Regions from separate parts of the Homo sapiens genome. Here region 2 is linked to region 1. Evidence: promoter capture Hi-C in 16 types of primary human blood cells and fetal thymus (Javierre and others, 2016). All regions are on one chromosome and are shown on one strand. The core of a region is centred on a gene start or on the middle of the fragment in contact, and the rest is flanking DNA. Distances in the headings are between cores, read along the strand shown. Region 1 holds the start of NRDC (nardilysin convertase). Region 2 has its middle 19 kb from the start of RAB3B.

Region 1 (4,370 bases), core at 211-2,710:
GTGGCAGTCCTCAATAAGACTTCTGAAGAAAGCTAACTTGAATTATTTAAAAGCCTGATTTACTTTAGTTTACATATTTTACAGTTCCTTCCCATTAGGATGCAAGCTCCCCCAAGGCAAGGCTTTAAATTTTTGTTGTCGTTGTTTAGACAGGGTCTCACTGTGTCAACCAGGCTGGAGTGCAGTGTTGCAATCACGGCTCACTGCAGCCTCGACCTCCTGGACTCAAGCGTTCCTCCTGCCTCAGCCTCCTGAGTAGCTGGGACCACATGCACGCATCACCAAGCCTGGCTAATTTTAAAAAAGAATTTTGTACAGACGGGGGTCTCACCATGTTGTCCAGGCTGGTACCAAATTCCCAGGCTCAAAGCAATCCTCCCGCTTCGGCCTCCCAAAGTACTAGGATTATAGGTGTGAGCTATCACTATCACGCCCAGCCTAAGGCAAGTTTTGTTTTGTTCATGGTTGTATTCCTTGCATTTGGAACTCAGAAGAGGCCTCGAAAACCTTGAAGATACAGTAACTATCAACACATCTCCCTGCTTCACGTCTTTCCCCGCTCATTCGTATGTATGAGCTATGATCTCTTACCCCATGGTGTCAGTATAGTGCATCTTACTAATTTCAGCTGCTTTTTAGCTTTCATTTATGTTTGTATTTCCGTCACATTTTACATTGCTAACCAAAGACCACTGCTAGCGGGAAAAACTGGGAAAGGAGACTTGAAGGCAGCAGACGCTGCAGCTGCTCGATAAAAATTGGCCGAATTTAACAGGAGGCTGGAGGAGCTAAAAAACGTTTTCACACAGAAGAGTTAGCACATCCAGACTGGTCTTTTTAGCACTTTCTTAGGGCTTGAGGATGAAACCCCACCACTGTCGGGCCGACTGTAGGGTAGAGAAGAGCCAATTAGTATTTGCGGCGCTCGGGAGCAGCGTCCATCCGGCGGGTGTAGGAAAATACTTCCGGCGTTCTGGTTTTTTATGTGCTGAGTCACAGCCGAAGGCTCGCCCCGGGTCTGAGGAGTAGGGTACCCAAACTATGACACGAATGGGAAAATTTAAAACTTTGGAATTAATTCTCTGCACTCGTTTCTCAGTTTTCTCATTAGGGGAATATTTTTCTTTGACACGCGGAGCACTACTCAGTGGTTTCCACAAAACACACTCGTACGTCATAAACGCGCCGGGGGCCCTTCTCCCGTCGTCCTCCGCGCCACTCTCTCCGCTTCTTCTCCCTCGCCCCGCCCACTTTGGGTTTCGAAATGTTCGCTGGCTGTTCCGAGAATCAGTCCGGGTCACGTTGGTGCCTCTCCTTTCCTGTTCTGATTGGTTGCTTACGTGAGCGTGACTACTTTCTTGCCTCATGATTGGCTGAAATCAGTAGCGTCATCGGCGGCCGGGAGGGCGGAGGGACGAGGGAAGTCGGCGAGAGGGAGACTGGGTTGGGGGAGGGGTTCAGGCCTGTTCCCCGCGGCTGCGGCAGCACCAGGGCCGGCCGCCACCGCCTCTAGAACGCGGAGGAGGTGGGTCCTGGGAAGCGGGATGTCCATCGCTCCAGCTTGGTGGTGAATGCTGAGGAGAGTCACTGTTGCTGCAGTCTGTGCCACCCGGAGGAAGTTGTGTGAGGCCGGGCGGGAGCTCGCGGCGCTCTGGGGAATCGAAACGCGGGGTCGGTGCGAAGACTCTGCTGCTGCCAGACCCTTTCCTATTCTGGCCATGCCTGGAAGGAACAAGGCGAAGTCTACCTGCAGCTGCCCTGACCTGCAGCCCAATGGACAGGATCTGGGCGAGAACAGCCGGGTTGCCCGTCTAGGAGCGGATGAATCTGAGGAAGAGGGACGGAGGGGGTCTCTCAGTAATGCTGGGGACCCTGAGATCGTCAAGTCTCCCAGCGACCCCAAGCAATACCGGTGAGGGAGGAGGCTTGCAATGGGGAGGCGAACAGTGTGCCGGCTTCTCTGTCGGTGCCGCCGTCACTTCTTGTCTCCATGTCTCCCAATGGAGCAACAGGGCACACTTTCCACCCCAAATGCTTCCTTGGGTGGAGGTGGCAAGCGTGATTAGAGGCTTCCCTGTGGTGTCAGCTGGGCAAGTGGGAGATCTTGGGTTGTAAGACGTCAGAATGGGAGAAGCTTTTCGAGTCATTTGAATACAGTCGCTAAAGCAAGAATGAAGGTTTCTTTGAGGAACGCAGCCTGAATGGTGAGGGAGTCTTGGTATTATGTTACCAGGAAAGGTTGACGGAGTTGGATACTTTAATTTGGAGGACAGGATATTTAAGGGGCATATTATCACTATCCAAAATATTTGAGGGACACTTAAGTGATAGGTGAAACTAGTGGACGAAAGTTACCAGAGGATGGTGTGGCTTCAGTAAAGTAACTTTGCATCATATTTGGCCTAAGTTGAAGTGACTTGTTTCCATGGGTAGTTCTCCATTACCAAAACGGTTGGGCGACCTCGTCCAGGAATATATTAGAGAGGGCTTAGGTCTCAGTTGGGTGAGTTGTAAGGTTTCTTCTAACCTTGAAATTCTCTACTTTTGGTTTGTACAGGAGTTCTCTAAACATTTCTAATAATTGGTGATTCAGTCCCCACCTGAGTATTTTCCTTCAGAGGTAGCTTATTTCATGGAGTATCATGACTATGATGTATCTTGCGTGTGTGTGTGTGCGTGTGTGTTTTAATAAGAGTCTGGGTCTTGCGATGTTGCCCAGGCTAATTTCAAACTCCTGGGCTTAGGGAATCCTCCTGTCTTGGCCTCCCAAAGTACTGGGATTACAGGCGTGAGCCACTGTGCCAGGCCTGGACTTTGATGTATTTTAAATAGAGTTCATATTGTCCAATAACTTCGTTGAACAGGTTGAGGAAATTGAGACCCAAAGAGTTTGCTTCTTGCTCTGAATCACACAGCTAAATAATAACAGAGCTGGTATGATGACCCCTACTATCTGACACCAAATTCAGTGTATCATTTGCTGATTTCCTTTTTTTTTTTGAAACGGAGTCTTGCTGTGTCACCAGGCTGGAGTGCAGTGGCGCGATCTTGGCTCACTGCAACCTCCGCCTCCCGGGTTCAAGCGATTCTCCTGCCTCAGCCTCCCCAGTAGCTGGGACTACAGGTGCTCGCCACCACGCCCGGCTAATTTTTTGTATTTTTAGTGGAGACGGGGTTTCACCATATTGGCCAGGATGGTTTCGATCTCTTGACCTTGTGATCCGCCCGCCTCTTCTCCCAAAGTGCTGGGGTTACAGGCGTGAGCCACCCCGCCCAGCCCGTTTGCCGATTTTTTACAAATTTCTTGCTTATGTGAATTGAAAGCTGAAGGATTCTAGTTCTAAATTTGTTATAAGCCCCTACAGCGTTAGCGCAAGAAACAACCTTATAGATAATCTTTTCCACTTCCCACCACACCTCTTTGACAGATGACACTTAGCTCCAAGTTCAGGACCAACCTAATTTCTCCTTTCACTTCAAGTCTAGATATATTTTCTCCAGGCTGCCAGAGTCAAGAGATCTTTATAAATGAGCTAAATTTTCTTTCTCATCAAAGATGTGATTGTACAGGTTGAGTATCCCTAATCCAAAAATCCAGAATGCTCGGAAATCCAAAACTTTATGAGCGCCAACATGACACCACAAGTGAAAAATTCCACACTTGGCACCTTTGCTTTTTGATGGTTGGTTCATGTACACAAACTTTGTTTCATGCACAAAATTATTAAAAATATTGTATAAAATTATCTTCAGGTTATGTGTATAAGGTATATATGAACCATAAATGAATTTTGTATTTATACTGCATCCCATCCCCAAGATACCTCATTACGTATACGCAAATATTCCAAAATCCAAAAAAATCCAAAATTTGAAATACTTTTGGTCCCGAGTGTTTCGGATAAAGGATACTCAACCTGTATTGGCAATGTATAAATGAGCAAGTTGAAAACTTGATAAAAGGTGCTTAGTTTTTGCCTTCCAGATCAAATGTTCAATAATGGTTTCAGGGTTTTTTCCAGCCTATATAAAGTTATATAATAACTAATATTTATGGAATCTACACTGTGTTTCAGCTACTGTTGTAACTGTTTTAGATGTGTTATTTCATTTACTGACCTCATTTTTGGTAAATTTGTTTGATAAATACCTGTTAAGTCCTACTGTGTGCTAGGCACCAAGCTAGATTAAATATTTTCTGAAACTTGGTCAAATATAATGTAATAAATAACATGTTAGTCTGGGTGAATATACAAAAATGATTGAGCCAGTACCTGCCTTTAGGGAGCTTACAATAGTAGAGAGGGACACAGACACATAAAAAAAAAAATTAGAGACTGTTGTGGTGGCTCATGCCTGTAATCCCAGCA
Region 2 (4,897 bases), core at 194-2,693, 130 kb before region 1:
CACTCTGTCACCAGGCTGGAGGCATGATCTCAGCTCACTGCAATCTCTGCCTCCCTGGTTCAAGTGATTCCCCTGCCTCAGCCTCCCGAGTAGCTGGGACTATAGGCATGCACCACCATGCCTGGCTAATTTTTTGTATTTTAGTAAAGACAGGGTTTTACCATGTTGGCCAGGATGGTCTCTATCTCCTGACCTCGTGATCTGCCTGCCTTGGCCTCCCAAAGTGCTGGGATTACAGGTGTGAACTACCGTGGCCGGCCTGGAGTAGGTGAATTTTTAAAATATTTAAGAGAAAAAATAAACAATAACTGATGATTAAGGAGAGAGGTTAGAAGAAGTCAAAGACAGGTCTCAGGTTTCTGGCATGTAAAACAGCAGAGGGTGGTGCTATTTACTTATTGGATAAGGAACACTGCAAGAGAGAGAAAGATCACTGTTAGGACTACCAGAATCTATTTCTTTTTTTTTCTTTTTCTTTTTTTTTTTTTGGTCCTTTAGGGGTTCTAAAACAACGTACAAAAATACATTAGTTTGCCCAGCTGCCTATCAGGATATTTATTGGCACATGTACCCAATAGGCCTGGGGAGTTGAATAAAGGATTATCCATGCAAGTATAAATTAGAAAGACAAATTTCAAAAATGATTTTATCAACCAAACTTCCCTCTCTCACTTCCAAATCCTATATCTCCTCCTATTAAGAGGATTTATCTAAGAGGAGCCATTTGGGTGGAATTGTGAAAGCAGAAGCTGGAGTGGAGCGGTAGAGGCTGAAAAAAAGAATACGAGCATTCGAGACCAGCCTGGGCAACACGGCAAAACCCCGTCTCTACAAAACAGAGTGGGGTGTGGCGGAGCTACCTGTGGTCCCCTCTACTCAAGGGACTGAGGTGGGAGGATCACTTGAGCCCAGGAGCCGGAGGTTGCAGTGAGCTGAGATGGTGCCACTGCAGTCTAGCCTGGCTGACAGAGTGAGACCTGGTCTAACAATAATAATAAGAGTTCTCTAGCAAGCAGACTCAGAATAAATAAATAAATAGGAAGAATAAGAGGTGAGGAAAGGCTAACAGCATGGAGTCAGGCTGGAGAGACACATAAGGCCAATAAGTACAAGTACTCTCACCATGATGCCCGGGCTGGTCTCGAGCTCCTGGACTCAGGCAATCCTCCAGCCCCAGCCTCCTGAAGTGCTGGGATTACAAGCATAAACCACTATGCCCAGCTTTACATTTGATTTTAAAACACATATTCCAATTTTCTCCAAAATGAATTATTTCTGAAATAAAGTCTGATTTAGAAACTGATCCATTTGGCTGGGCAGGGTGGCTCACACCTGTAATCCCAGCACTTTGGGAGGCCAAGGTGGGTGGATCACTTCAGGACAGGAGTTCGAGACCAGCCTGACCAGCATGGTGAAACCCCGTCTCTTATAAAAATACAAATATTAGCCAGGCGTGGTGGCACATGCCTGTTGTCCCAGCTACTCCGGAGACTGAGAATCGCTTGAACCCAGAGGTGGAGGTTGTAGTGAGCCGAGATTGTGCCACTGCTCTACAGCAGGGCAGACAAAGTGAGGCCTTGTCTCAAAGTTTTTTTGATATTAGATTGCTGTGATTTTTGGGCATATAACTCAGAGTTCAAAGAATTTAATGCCATTGCAATGAAGAAACGCTTTCTATTCCCATATAATTATTTTTAGATACAGAATCTCACTTTGTTGCCTAGGCTGAAGTACAGTTGATACAGGAGTTAAGAATAAATTACTTAGGCAGCTAGTAAGGGAATGGGAGTCCTTAGTAAGGCTTTTCTTTTCTTTTTTTTTTTTTTTTTTTTTTTTTTTTTGAGACGGAGTCTCGCTCTGTCCCCCAGGCTGGAGTGCAGTGACGCAATCTCGGCTCACTGCAAGCTCCGCCTCATGGGTTCACGCCATTCTCCTGCCTCAGCCTCCCGTGTAGCTGGGACTACAGGCGTCCACCACACATGGCTAATTTTTTGTATTTTTAGTAGAGACGGGGTTTTACTGTTTTAGCCAGGATGGTCTCGATCTCCTGACCTTGTGATCTGCCTGCCTCGGCCTCCCAAAGTGTTGGGATTACAGGCGTGAGCCACCGCTCCCAGCCTCTTTTTTATTTTTTGGAGACAGAGTCTCACTCTGTCACCCAGGCTGGAGTGCAGTGGCACGACCTCAGCTCACTGCAACCTCCGCCTCCCAGGTTCAAGCAGTCAGGATTTTCTTTTTAATAAAAAGCAGCCCCAAATCATTTTCTAACAAAGAGCAGCCTGTAAAATCCAGCCGCAGACACAGACAAGCAAGCTGGGAGCTTGCACAGGGGAACGCTGGCAGGAACTAGGAACTAGACATGTTCAAGATGGCGGCTCCATCTCCCCTTTTCTGCCAGCCACAGTACAGTAAGAAGCAGACAAGATGGCGCGGATCAACTGGAAAGTCTATTTGCATAATAAGATTAGGGTTAGGCAACCAGCCTTCCCTGCCATCATACCTGATGGAACCAATCTGTGAGGCCTATGTAAATCGGACACCACTTCCTCAAATCTAACTATTACATTTGGGGCATCTGGCAGGGCTCGGTGGCTCACGCCTGAAATCCCAGCACTTTGGGAGGCCGAGGCAGGTGGATCATCTGAGGTCAGAAGTTCAAGACCAGCATTACCAATATGGTGAAACCCTGTCTCTACTAAAAATAAAAAAATTAGCCGGATGTGATGGTGGGCACCTGTAGTCCCAGCTACTCGGGAGGCTGAGACAGGAGAATTGCTTGAACCCAGTAGCTGGAGGTCGCAGTGGGTCGAGATGGAGCCACTGCACTCCAGCCTGGGCCACAGAGTGAGATTCCTCTCAAAAAAGAAAAAAAAAAAATTGGTGTATTCACCACCCCTGGGTCTTTGCCACTTGGAGACTCCTTCCTCTGTAGAGGAAGCTGTTTCTCTTTCTTTTCTTCCTTTTAAACCTCTGCTCTTAAACTCCTTGTGTCTGTGTCCTAAATTTTCCTGGCACACGACAGTGAACCCCAGGGTATATACCCCAGACAAAACGTAGCCGATTCACAGTGACCTGATCATAGCTCACTGTAACGCTGGAATCCTGGTCTCAAGCAATCCTATCACCTCAACCTCCTGAGTAGCTAGGACTACAGGCATGTGCCACCATACCTGGCTACTTTTTTTTTTGATAGAGGCAGTGTCTCTATATTGCCCAGGCTGGTATTGAACACTTGGCCTCAAGCAATCCTCTTGCCTCCCAAAGTGCTGGGATTATAGGTGGGAGCCACTACGCCCAGCCTCTCAGGTACTTTTTATGTGAAGATTGTTTCTCAGCACTAATATCTCTAGAAGTAATTACTGTTAAGAAAAAGCATTCAAAACTTTGTTGTTGTTGTTTTGTTTTGTTTTGTTTTGTTGAGACAGGGTCTCACTCTCTTGCCCAAGCTTGAATGCAGTGGCTTGATCACAGCTCACTGTAGCCTGTGATCGACCTCATAGGCTTATGCTATCCTCCCACCTCAGCCTCCCAAGTAGCTGGGACTACAGGTGCATGCCACTAGCCCAGCTAATTTTTGTATTTTTTTTTGTGGAGATGGGGTTTCACCATGTTGGCCAGGCTGGTCTTGAACTCCTGACCTCATGATCCACTCGCCTCGGCCTCCCAAAGTGCTGAGTTTACAGGTGTGAGCCACCACGTCCTGCCTGTCATATATTTCTTTAGTATTTCATCATGTTGCCCAGGACGGTCTTGAACTCCTGAGCTCAAGCAACCCACCAGCTTCGGCCTCCCAAAGTGCTGGGATTATAGGTGTGAACCACCTTGCATAGGAGTTCAAAACTTTTAATGTAATTGTAGAGCATTTTTGTAACAAGCCTGTCTAAAGTTACCTGACACCAAGAGTTTTTTTTTTTTATTGTTAATTACGATCCAGACATTTTACAACTTTATAGAGTTGAATTTTAATTTATAGGACACTAATTATATGTGAATGATTTCTTTCCTAAGGGGAAGATAATCTCAAATGTTATGACTTTATTGACTGTAAGTCATTAACCAGTTTTATATCTGATTTAGCAATCTTACTTTAGTATTCCTTTTTGTCACTGACAATATGTATGTATGCAAGTTTTTGTATCCTTTGAATTGGTTTGTCTTCTTGCTGGTCTTTGTTAATGAATTAATTAAAATGTTGGTATGTGTTCAGAATCTGTTTGAGAGTTATGTTTTTAATTTTTTTTTTTTTTTTGAGACAGAGTTTCTGTCTTGTTACCCAGGCTGGAGTGCAATGGCATGATCTTGGCTCAATCCTGACCTCAGGTGATCCACCCGCCTTGGCTTCCCAAAGTACTGGGATTATATGTATGAGCCACGTGCCTGGCCAAGTTTTTAACATTTTTGAAACTGCCATTGCAGAATTGTAACTGAGACAGTGAAAGGAATCTGACCTAGCCAACTCCCTCTTGCATCTAACTTCCAAGCTGTCCTTGTTCATTCCTGGGTGTATGCCCGAACTAACTTTGGAGGAACTTAGTTTATAGTTTAACTTTGAAACAAAGACGATTACAGCCCTTTTCCAAAACAAACCCCCTCTTCCTTGGGGACTAGACTGCCTTTGTAGGACTAACAAAGTAGTCAAAGGATTAGAAATTATGGTTTAGGTGGAGTCATGCAGCTGGAGGCTATAAGATTCTGACCCTCCCCAAATTGCCCCTGGGGATAACATCATTATTATAAAACCTCACATCAGTGCTTGAGATATTTTGCAGACCCTGCACTTGATGGATCAGCTGGCACCACCCAGATCGATAAAATGGCTAATCTGGTCTTGAGGTCCCCACCCAGGAACTGACTCAGCAAAAGAAGACAGCTTTGACCACCTATGATTTCATCTCCA

What was found. The method cuts DNA at HindIII sites, captures the fragments that hold promoters and counts their contacts. A CHiCAGO score of 5 or more calls a contact.
Region 2: a contact is called between a fragment that was not itself captured here and the fragment with the promoter of NRDC in region 1, in 1 of 17 cell types (endothelial precursors). The highest score is 6.1, in endothelial precursors.

What each region holds. Positions count from the first base shown.
Region 1 is chr1:51,875,817-51,880,186 of GRCh38, reverse strand. It overlaps NRDC (nardilysin convertase), which reads left to right and starts at 1,460. Exons shown (of 31, transcript NM_001101662.2): 1 at 1,460-1,912. The coding sequence starts at 1,572. RefSeq lists enhancers at 169-722, 1,113-1,292, 1,176-1,470, 3,139-3,670 and a silencer at 1,373-1,422. The HindIII fragment of the contact is 5,345 bases long and covers 1-2,136 here.
Region 2 is chr1:52,007,400-52,012,296 of GRCh38, reverse strand. No RefSeq gene overlaps it. Among named protein-coding and RNA genes, the nearest start is that of RAB3B, 19 kb to the right of the region's middle. RefSeq lists an enhancer at 4,766-4,897. The HindIII fragment of the contact is 4,010 bases long and covers 1-3,448 here.